Linked DNA regions of Homo sapiens: region 2 is linked to region 1. The links are contacts of gene promoters, found by promoter capture Hi-C in blood cells and fetal thymus (Javierre and others, 2016). All regions are on one chromosome and are shown on one strand. Each heading gives the region's core, a stretch centred on a gene start or on the middle of the fragment in contact. The rest is flanking DNA. Distances are from core to core; before and after follow the strand shown.

The links. Contacts are between HindIII fragments. The CHiCAGO score rates a contact against its expected background, and 5 or more counts as called.
Region 2: a contact is called between a fragment that was not itself captured here and the fragment with the promoter of OR52K1 in region 1, in 2 of 17 cell types (monocytes and M2 macrophages). The highest score is 6.5, in monocytes.

What each region holds. Positions count from the first base shown.
Region 1 is chr11:4,481,251-4,486,915 of GRCh38, reverse strand. OR52K1 (olfactory receptor family 52 subfamily K member 1) reads right to left here and starts at 4,270. Exons shown (of 2, transcript NM_001005171.3): 1 at 3,740-4,270. The HindIII fragment of the contact is 19,878 bases long and covers 1-5,665 here.
Region 2 is chr11:4,432,249-4,437,943 of GRCh38, reverse strand. No RefSeq gene overlaps it. Among named protein-coding and RNA genes, the nearest start is that of OR52K2, 14 kb to the left of the region's middle. The HindIII fragment of the contact is 1,100 bases long and covers 2,151-3,250 here.

The DNA of each region.
Region 1 (5,665 bases), core at 3,021-5,520:
GAGTGTCTCACTTCCTTCTCCTGCTTCTGCCCTAACTGTAAGTATTACATTTCTACAGTTCTCAAGCATCTTTTCAAATTTTATATCCATGTCATTCAGAAAATATACTAACTAAATTTAATGACAACTATTTAAACATTTTTACTGAAGAGGTTAAGGAAAAATTTATGAACAAAACAGATGGATCCCTTAGTAGAATAAGTTTGCTAAAGGTTGGAGAAGGATAATAAAAGGACATCATGATTAAATTACATATTATACAAAGTTTCATTGTTGTGATTTAAAAACCAAGGAATAGGGCAGTTATGATAGGCATTTCATGATAGGGAGCAGGAGAAGTTGAAATTTGAAATAAAAAGCTCATTATACACCTTATTAGAAAATTTGAGAAAAATTGAATGAGGTGAGGAAATACTTGGCTTCACTTCCTTAAATGCCAAACTAAAGTTTCATGCCAGTGGTATATACAGAACAATTACACAGTGAACAAGAATAGGATGAAGGAGTGGAACAGGAAAGAGAATATGGATCCAAAGTTGCCTTACTGAGATGGATAATCCAATTCCACATGAAGAACCATAGAGAAGGAACCAAAGAATTGTCCACTCTAGACACAGAAGAGGGGAACTTTTATCCACTGGCTTCCACACCCCATAGGTCAAGGATGACCCAAGGAGTGTAGATTTCCTTGCATTTTCAGGTCCATACATGTACCAGAATAACACAATGAGATCCCTGAGGTGCCCATGCAATAAAGCAGAGAAACTGTGGGAGGTGGGATACAGCTGAGTAAGGTGCTATCAACCTACACCTGCACTCGAATGGTTCCCACAACAATGCCTACAACAAAAAGGGGAGATGACAGGACATGAGAAGACCATAATAGATTTGGAATATAGGAGTCACCCAGGGGAAAGGAACAGTCTAAGAAAATGGAACAGCCAGAGAAAATGCCCCAAGACATAAAAACACCTGTTATTCAAATATCAGCAGGCAGCCAGCACAGGTAGGATGAAGCAAATGAGCAGGAGAATCAGGTCAGAACAGTGGGGCCAAATCACACAGGGCCCCACAGGCCTTTGTGGACTTTGCAAAAGTTCCCCATTTCTCTCAGAATCAAGGACATTGTTTTCAGCAGAGAGGAGATGTATGTGACTTATACTTTTAAAGTTTTCCCTGGCATCTATGATGGAGAATAGCACAAAGAGGGAAGGGTAGAATTGGGGGAAAGTACCTGGAGACTATTGCAGGAATCCAAGGAAGGGAGAACATTGGCTCAGAATCAAGGTAGCAGTGTATGTAGTGGGAAGTAATAGGATTGGGGATATATTTTTAAAATGTGTCAGTGGCATTTTTGACAGGTTAGATATAGGAAGTGAGACAACAGGGAGTCGAAGATGACACCCTGATTTTTGGCATAAACCACTGATAGGAGCTGCTCCCAACTGAGACGGGGAAAGCATGAAAGGAGGAGCTCGAGACTTCAATTTTTGAACATGGTGAGTTTGAGATATCAGAAATTCAAGTGAATATGGTAATACGTATAGAAAATAAATCATATTTAAAGCCACAAAACTGTTTGAGATCGCCCAGACAGTAAATGTTCACAGAAAAGAGAACTAGAGAACCCAGAACTGAATCCCAACATTAAGAATGGATGGGAGAAGAGTTGGAGCACACTGAGATATTCGCAAGGGAAACTGACAGTGGAAACTATTAAGATAGAAACATCCCCAAATAATGTACTATCTTAGTATATAGAATATAGTTTACTAACAAGTGGATTATTACCATGTAAAATGCTACTGATGAGTCAAAGAACTTGAAAACACAATTGGCCTTGTGTTTAGAATTGCACAAGAGGATTGGATACCTTGATAAAAGCAATTTTGCTAGAAGAGAGACAGGCAAAGCCTGACTTGACTGAGTTAGAATAGATAAGAGGGGAATTGAAGTTTGTTAACATGGCTAACTTTTTTGAGGAATTTGGAAGCAAAGGACAGCAAGTAAATAGGGCACTGGCTAAAATGGAAAGCGAAGTCAACTGTGTGTGTGTGTGTGTGTGTGTGTGTGTGTGTGTGTCTGTGTGTTTTAGAACAGAAGTATCATGTCTTTAGCTGAAGCAAATTATCCAGTAGTAGGGGAAAAGTTGAAACTTAGACGAAGAAAGAGAATACTGCTCCTGAAAAGACCGTGAATATTGCATCTTTCTAGGTGGTCTGCTGGTTGATCATTGAGAATATAAACATATCCTGAAACAAACACAAATTTACATACCTTACATTCCTTGTAAGCTCCAGACTAGGATATCCAACTCCATACTCGATATCCCCACATATCTTCCTCACAGATATGTCAAACCTGCCATGCCTGAGGCAGAAATCATGACTACTTCTCTTCTTGTGCTGCCCATATCTCAGAACGTAACATCCTGCCCAACCAGTTGCTCAACCTAGAATCAAGTCATCCTGGATTCTTCTCTTTTCTTCCTGCATCATATTTAATCATCAGCAAGCACACTGGATCATCCTACATAGTAAATCTCCACGTTGCCCATTGCGTTTCCAACACTTCCACCCTTCCAACACCATCACCCTTGTTCAAGCCACAGCATCTCCCAGCAACTACTGCTACAAAAGAATCCTAACAAGTACACAAAGTTCCACTTTGTTCTCCAATATTTATCCTTCAACAATTACCCACCATATCATGAAGTGAAGGGACTGGAGTTAAGAAACTCTACCTATTTTCCTTCTGTAAACCCAGCCTCTAACATACATAGGTGTGGAACATTTCACTAAATAAAACAGACTACTAGATTATTGGAAGACATATTTCTCAGAATACTACTCCCCTCATGTGATTTAAGCTCAGAATTTGGGTTATCTTCTCATTTAAAATGCATCCAGAATGGAGGTTCTAAGCATCCCGATTACAATACTTTGTTACCTGCATCAGAATAAAATTCTCTTCTTAATGGAAAATACTATTTTAAATATTCATAATGTTTGTGCATTTTTGTCAGGAACAAGCTCTTATGACAACAGACATTTTTATTTTCAAGTACATATCAGTACCTAGAAACATGCCTGGCGTCTAAGAAACTCTTCTAAAATACTGTGAAATAATCCCACAAACCTGCTGCATCTTTACCTTATCTCAATATGTATTTTCCACAAAACCCACATGTTTTACTTTGAGTCTCCATGTCCCCCTAGATTCCTCCATTCAACTTTTAAACATCACTAACCACCCTGTGAGCTGTCTACCCATCTTCATACAAGAAAAAAAGGCATCTCTTCTATCAGATTTCTTCCTGAAAAGACAGGGTGTCTAATAGTTCATAAATCTTACTTCCTTTGAAGTTCATCTAAAATCAACTCCTCAGAATGAAGTGCTCTGAGTAGGAGTGTGAATGGAGCCAGTCTTCTTCCCCTAATATCCAGAAACTAAGACCTCCTCTGTAGTGCAAGTTTTGTCCAGACTGTTCATTGTTTTCAGAACTAAGATGTCCATGCTCAAAGGATTTATCTTCTATTTCTCCTTAAAAAAGGCCTCTGTACCCAGAATGGACTCAATTAATACTGAATCTATTTGGTTGCCTATACCTTTATCTTAAAAGGATATCAGAATGACATATCTGAAAAACTTAGAACCAGACAAGGAAGGATAATCACATAATCAAGATACTTCAGGACTGCTTCTGGTAGAAGAACCTCAAAGATAAGGTATTTCTTACCTTTCCCTGCCATCTTTCTAGTTCAGGCCTCGTTTTCTTCCTCTTGACTAATGCAGAAGCCCTTTAACTGGGATGGGGCATTTGCCAGGGGTTAGAAAAAGCAATGACAGGAGGTGAGAAGTGACAGATCCAAACTGGAATAATCAACTAAGACTTCTTGGAGATGGCCCACAGTGTTTGGCATAGGACGGAAGCAGGCATCCTCTGTGGTGGGGAGAGCATCTGGAGTTTGTGTACCAAACAGTTGGGTGGGACTATCGAGACTTCTGTTCCCTCTATTGAAGGACCAGAGTAGAAGCAATAACAGGGTTGGAGAGCTGATGCCTAAGATCAGGAATGGCTATGGGAAGAAATTGACAGTGCCCCCACCTTCCAGCTCACTCCCACCTTCCTGCTCACCCCAATAACATCACTTGTTTTCTATTTCCCTAAGTTGCAGCTGTATCCACAGTCCTCAGTCTGACTTACAATCCTGGGCCCTTTTCATTAGCTTCATGCAGCACCAGTGCCGCCTTCCTCTTTCAGTCTAAGGAGTCTTAGAAGGAGGAAGCTGGGAAGCGAGCAGCTGGCTTTAATCCTCACCAACCTCTGCCCTTCTCCCAGAAGGCTGTGGAAGCAGAAACTGCTGCACTTGAGCAGAGTCCTCAGAGACATCTCTGGCCTCCTCTCTCTGGGTTGATGCAAGGGGACTTCCCCTGACCCAAGGGGACTGTATCCTTGTTTCCTACAACCCATGCCTCCTCCCCAGCTAGTGGCACTGAGTTGTGCCTACCAGGGGTCATGCCCTACTTGCCAGAGGCTGTGAGACTTTCAGGTGGAGCTGGCTTGTGTCTTGGTGTTTGCTGTGCCTCTCCTTACTCTTTATCCTTACAGTGTCTTCAAAGAAAGCCAGCCTCATCAGAAAATATACACTGCAGGCAACTCCTGTCAGAACTGACTTGAAAGGGCAGGGAGTCCAGCCTGACCAGGCCAAGGTCATCCATTAGGCATTTTATTTTGCATTCATATTTCATATTGGCCTGAGATATGCATTAATAACCAGCTCGTGAACTTGATCTGGCACCTGTCTGATCCCTGATCTATTTTTCTTATCTCTAAGGTAGAGATAACTTTTACAATATTTTCTAACTCACAAGGATAGGAGGATCTAAGTAGATAAACAAGAGGCCACTATGAATGTGATTCCTTATTAATAATTAGGAAATTACCAATCATCTATAAATGATAAAGAGTGATCTTTCTACCTACAGCTGACTTAATGTGTGCTATTTTTCAAGGACCTGAGAAGATGCTTTTCACTAGAGTTCTCCATGGATTTTGTCTACCCTAATTCCCCATAATTTTTAAAAGCAATCTCAGAACGCTGTAACTCAGTCATCTCACTCCCTTCCCACACAGGTACCCTGGAACTAACTTCCCCTTCTGTAATAGTTGGCCCTCAAGGGTGTGGACTCAGCACTCCTCCATGATAAGTCTGATCTTTTGGGATGCTGGGATAAAGTGGAATTCCTACATAGTTTTAACAATGTACAGCTAGGCCAAGGGGATACAGCCTGTATGAAAAGCACCTCACCAAAACCTAATATGGCAAAAGCCAGATAAAAGCCAGACAAGAGCCAGATAGAATAGACAGTGTTTTTGTGAACAAAGCACCTTAATTTGCCCCCAACTCCATTCTGAATGGGCAATCCTGACATCATAGGAGCAGGATAAGAAGCACATGGAGTGGGGGAGTGGGCAGTGGGGCCATTGGCTCAAACCATGCTGGAGATAACTGCTGGAATATTGGAACACTTAGACTGTTTAATTCATTGACATCCTCCCCACCCTATCTTTTCTTTTGTAAAATCTAGATTCTTTTACATTCATATGCATCTTTGTTTTGGTGTTCTTCATTCCCTCCAGGTTTTTCATGTTTCCATCTGG
Region 2 (5,695 bases), core at 1,451-3,950, 47 kb after region 1:
ATGATAGTTCTATTTTTAAGTTTTGGTAGTTCTATGTTTAATTTTTTGAGGAAACTTCATACCATGTGCCATGATGGCTATACTAATTTACATTCCTGCCAACCATGTGCAATTTCTCTATACCATCTCCAATGCTTGTTATCTTACAACATTTTAATAATAGCCATTCTAACTTCATAGCACTTTAATGCTGTAGTGAACATCAGTGTGGATATCTCTTTAACATTGTTTTAGACATCCAGACACCCAGTTCTGGAGTTGCTGGATCATACAGGTAGTTCTATTTTTAACTTTTTGAGGAAGCTTTATACTATTTCCCATAAAGGCTGTACTGCTTTACATTCCTACCAACCATGGGCAAGGATTCTCTTTTCTTCATATTCTCTCCAACACTTATCTTTCATCATGTTGATAATAGCCATTCTAATTTCATGGAACTTATCAATATCTATTTGTCATGTATTGATTTTTTAATGCAAATGTCTCCTATTAGCATAGACGTTCCATGAAACAAGAACTTTGTCTTCCTTGTTCAATATGGCATTCCTAGTAGTACGTAGAGAAATACTGACACATAGTGGGTGCTCAATAATATTGTATAGAATAGTTGTTGTTGGCTGAATAAAATGTGCCCCCATAGTATCCTAAGTTAATGCTAAACGTCTATGACTGTCCCTGAGACCCATAAAAATAATGGAGAGCTGAGGCTTGGCTCTGATCATTGTGGAGCTGGCAGAAAATTTAAATCATTTCATGTATCTGTTTTGCCACTTTAGAATCAGTCGAGTCCCTGAAGAACCAAATGGGAGAATGACCAAAACTCGGGATCCCCAAAACTTTTCATATTTGAAGTGTCATTTCTCTGTGAGCTCCCAGGGAACCTATATGTTTGGAGAATAAAGCCTGCACCTTCCTCTTCATCATCTGGGCCAAGTCATTCCCCACTAGGTCTTCCCTTCACCATCTGCATTTAAAGCTTCTTAAAAGCAGGAATATTTCCAAACCTTTATATCTCCAGGACAATAGCAGAAACATAAGCCGTCAATGTGTGTTTGTTGACTTATTGTCCGAAATCAAGTTTCATATCTGCCCAGACTACATTTGATTAGAATCCAATCTGTTCTTTTGACAGCCTTCCCCCAGTACCTAACATCATCACAATCTTCTTTTAAATGCCAACAGAGAGAGAGATTCATCCTGGTCTCTGCCTTCACAAAGTCTAGCATGTAGGAATCTACTGATGATTTACCAGGTTCTAGGCACTTTACTAAAAATTGTATATGTGCTATCTCATTTCAGTCTTCCCCATTTTTGAAAATGGGGAACAAGAGGCTGAGAGTTGTTACTTAACTTACCTAAGGTCATGCCAACAGTATTTAGAGTGAACTCTATCCCATGAATGGCATTTGATGAGATGCTGCATGGGCAATAGAGAGAAAGGACACACACAGCGTGTCAGAAAAGAATCATGAAAACATTGGCTTTGAATTAGGCTTCAGTGGTCCCCAGAAAATGCCCAATGTCCCTTGCCTTCCAGGTTTTACACGTGCTGTGTCCCCTTCCTGGTGTATTCCTCCCTTCAGACCCACTTTATCTTTCTAAACCCTAAATCCTTGACTAATTCTTAATAGTGAATCCCTCCCCTGCCAAAAGAGCCTCTGTCTGTTTTTTAAAGTCTGCATATGTCCCATTGAATTTTAATTGATTTTAATGTCTGTCCATCCTCCAATCCAGACTGTGACCTCCTTGAGAACAGGGGCATGATCCTTCAACCCTATGCCTTAAAATCTAGCATAATCCTTCACATATAACAGATGCTCAGTAAGTGATCGTTACATTTGATAAAATAAGATAAACACTTTTTATTGAGGGCTTAGCAGATACCAGGCAAAATGATAAATGTTTTGTATGTATAATCTAATTTGATCTTCACTGCTTCCCTACTTTATATATGAAGAATTAGTGTTCAAAAAAAATTGTTTTTCCTAAATAAACACCAAGAAGCAAATATTTTATCAGCAGTGTCCAATATTTTGGCTGGGCCACACTGGAAGTTGTCTTAGGCCACAAATAAAATACACTAACACTAATGATAGCTGATGAACTAAAAAAAAAGTCACAAAAAAATTTCATAATGTTTTAAGAAAGCTTACAAATTCGTGTTGGTCTGCAGGTTGGACAAGCTGGTTTTAGAAGGAGGGAGGGGGCCAGGAGAAAAAAACAAAATTGGTAAAACATTCTAAAATATGTTTCTATGCCAAAAAAACCTTTAAGACTATTTATGCTCAAGGACCTTTCCAACTACCCCACCTACCCACACGGAACTCTCAGGATAGATCTCTGCTATCCTATCCTTCCCTCTCCCATCAGGGCCTGTATTTCCAGCTTTCAATTTGCTGCCTCTTTCCAGCATCCCAGGGGTCTTTTTAGCATCTTTATCCTCCAGAGAATTGCTACCCTCATGTAGGATGCTAATAAGAGGACAAATACCCCAGCTCTTTTGCTTCCCACACTCTAACCCCTGTAGGACCAGATTCCACTATCACAACCTGCCTCAGACCTGGTAAGTTTGTCTCTCTGTCTGTTTGGTCTTCTCAGTGTGCCTATTATATGGTTGAACAAAGATAGGACTGCCACTAAGGTAATTTTTTCACTGAGGTTGTCCTCTACTTCAGATTAAAAGGACTTACAAATGAATCACACTTTTGACCACTGTTTTGTGGCCATGTACTTTAATTGGCTCTTCAGATAACTGTCTCCCCTAGTAATCGCCATAGTAGCCTATGAAGTAGGAATCAACCTCTCCAGGTTACACGGATAGGGAAACAGTTTGAGAGAGTTTAGGTGGCTTGACTGAGATCACACAGCTGGTGAGTTGTAAAGCTGGGATTTGAATCTGGCTGCCCTTGGACATCCATGAGTGAGTGCTAAATTCTAGGTTGGTCACTTCCAGATGCTCATGAGCACCTACAGGATAAAGAACTTGCTCCTTTCCTTGTGAGACAGCCTTGTTCCTGGCATTTGAACTCCTATTCTTATATATTTTAGGTAAGGCCTTTCTTATACCAAGTGCTAAAATAAATAAGAACAAAGCAGGGGAATGAGGGGCATGAAGGAGAGCTATTATTATGGAGAGCTATCTGGAGGAGGCTGGGAGTCTTCCTTGCCTGATCTCAGTAGGCAGATGAGTCAGAGGAAAATAACACTAGAGTATAGGCATAAAAGGGTTCATGGCAGAGAGTAGAAAGCTTTAAGAGTCTCTAGACATTCACCATGGAGAGGGCTCTGCAGCCATGCCACCTACTCCCAGCCTATACATCACTGAATCAGACTAAAGTGGCAAAGGTTCCTTTGAACATGGTGATGATAACCCATCTTCTGCCTTGCATACTTTCCCAGTGCCCTAAAATCTCATCCTGAGTGTTTTTCATGAGGTCTAACCTCAAATATTAGTAGGAAAGTCAAAAAGTGAAGACCTCCAAGGCTCTCACCTCAACCTTGACCTCTTTCCTAAAATTCAGGAATATTATACTCAACATATGCTCTTCCAACTTCATTTTCCCCATCTGTGCAAAGTGGGTGAGACAAGGGGAAATTGTGATCATTATGCTGTGTAGTTCCAGATCAAGGGTGGAGCAAAAGTTTTTTGAGTAGCAGTTTAAGGCCTGAGAAAATCTGATTCAATTATTAAAAGACTGAGATGGAAGAAGAAAAGAAGGGAGGGAAAGAAAGTAGGGCTGTCTCATTCATGACTGGATTATTCAGCTCTCAATTTTCTCCACAAAGGGTACTGAAGCAGGGACACTCCAAAAACAATGTCTTACATAAATGTATGTCCCTGTGTCTTCTGAGTACAGGCTTGCTCATGCATCTTGCACAATAACGTATATAGATACACACAATCACATGCCCAGCCAAACACTGCATTCTCATCAAATGGAACAGTTTTACATGCATCATTTCACAAGGTTCTTCACACTCTGATTTCTCTATCCCAGACCTTTCAGCTACCATGAAGGCTAAAATCTCTTCTAGGCTTGCTTGGGCCCCGGCTGGATGGTGGAAATTCAGGGAGATATCATAGAAGAGAAAAACAGGAAATACATGAAGGCATGATAAGACAGAAAGGAACAAGATGATTTGCTCAATATGAGAGTGACAGCCACGGTTGACACTGGGATGGAAAGGAGGCATCCTGGACCACAGTTCTTTCCTGCAGATCACATTAGAAGACCTTACCCTCCTCCTTCCTGCTCCTACATCTTTCCCCAAAGCAGTTTCCTATGATCTCTGGGTATGGGTAGCTGATACTAAGGATTGCAAGGAGCAGTGCATTTTAAGATTAGGAATACAGATGAGCAACACTATAGGGAACAATTGGGTCCACTATCTCTGTTTCAATTAGCAGTTGGAGCACAGTCACATACAATTATATTAGAAGCTCTTTTCTTTCGATAGAGGTACTTTTCTTTCTACTCTCTCCTATGTCTATTTCTGGTTCTTGTTCTCATCTTTTTTATCTCACCACCTCTCCCTCTACTGTCCCCTTTGCCTTTTTTTTGTTTAATCTTTCCTTTCTCTCAAATTCCCAATTACTACCTGGTTAGATAAGAAAAAAATGAGATAAAAATATATTTTAAAATGTAGGTGAGGGAAGATCAGGAGGGTGTTTGAGGGTAATAGACAGGAGATATGGGGAGATGTATGGAAGCACAGTACTGTCATTTGGTCAAACTTGGGTCTCCATTTTTGCTTTCAGGGAATGATTCCATGTTCCCAGTTACTAAAATTTACTTCTTACCTCTTTCTTTTATGTACTTTTGATTTTTATGAGAGAAAATGCCTTGTATTCAATCATTTCTCAATGACCTTAACAGATTCTTTTTATAGCCAAATTAGCCTGATCCCTACCACTGATCAATTGTGCATGATCACAGCTGTTTCTACCAGCATCCATATAGGACACTTGAGGCAAGTGCAGGATCCTTGTACTAAACATAAGCCAGGCAATCTTATGCCTGTATGAGACTACCAGAGACTCAGCCTATCACCTCTGTTTTGCTGTTCCTGGTCAGAACCTAGGTTCTGAGCCTCATCTATGGGTTATTATAGGCTCAATGGCTTGAAAAATCCATCCAAGATCTCTCCTCCTTCCTATCAATTCCCTTCAGACCTGATCTTTCCATCTCGAAAAGTAACCACATTTGAGTCTTCCATTGAATCTGCCTGACTTTTTATTATTAATATTACTTTTATATTTTCACACAGGCAGATGAATCCAAAGAAAAAAAATATTAGACTATAAGCAAAAGATGGCTCACAGGTAGAAGAAAACTGTAAAATTCTCTAGCCCACAGCCTGTCACCATAGAGAAGTTTCTACAGCCATGCCACTTGCCCACCACCCACAGCCTGGACATCATTGAAACAGATACAAGTGTGAAGGGCTCCTTTGAACCTTGAAGACAGTAACCCACCTCCTGCCTTGCATTATCTCCCAGTGCCCTACCATCTTCCCATCCTGGATGCTTTTCATGAAGCCTAATGCAAATACTTCCTGCTGCTGTTCAGCCATAGCATAATGATGAATCCCAGTTGCTTCATCTCTCAGGGATTCCTAGGACTCAGAGCAAGGCAGTGAGGTCTTCTCTAACCACCTTACTTGGCCATGAAACTCATAAACCATACCATCAGAA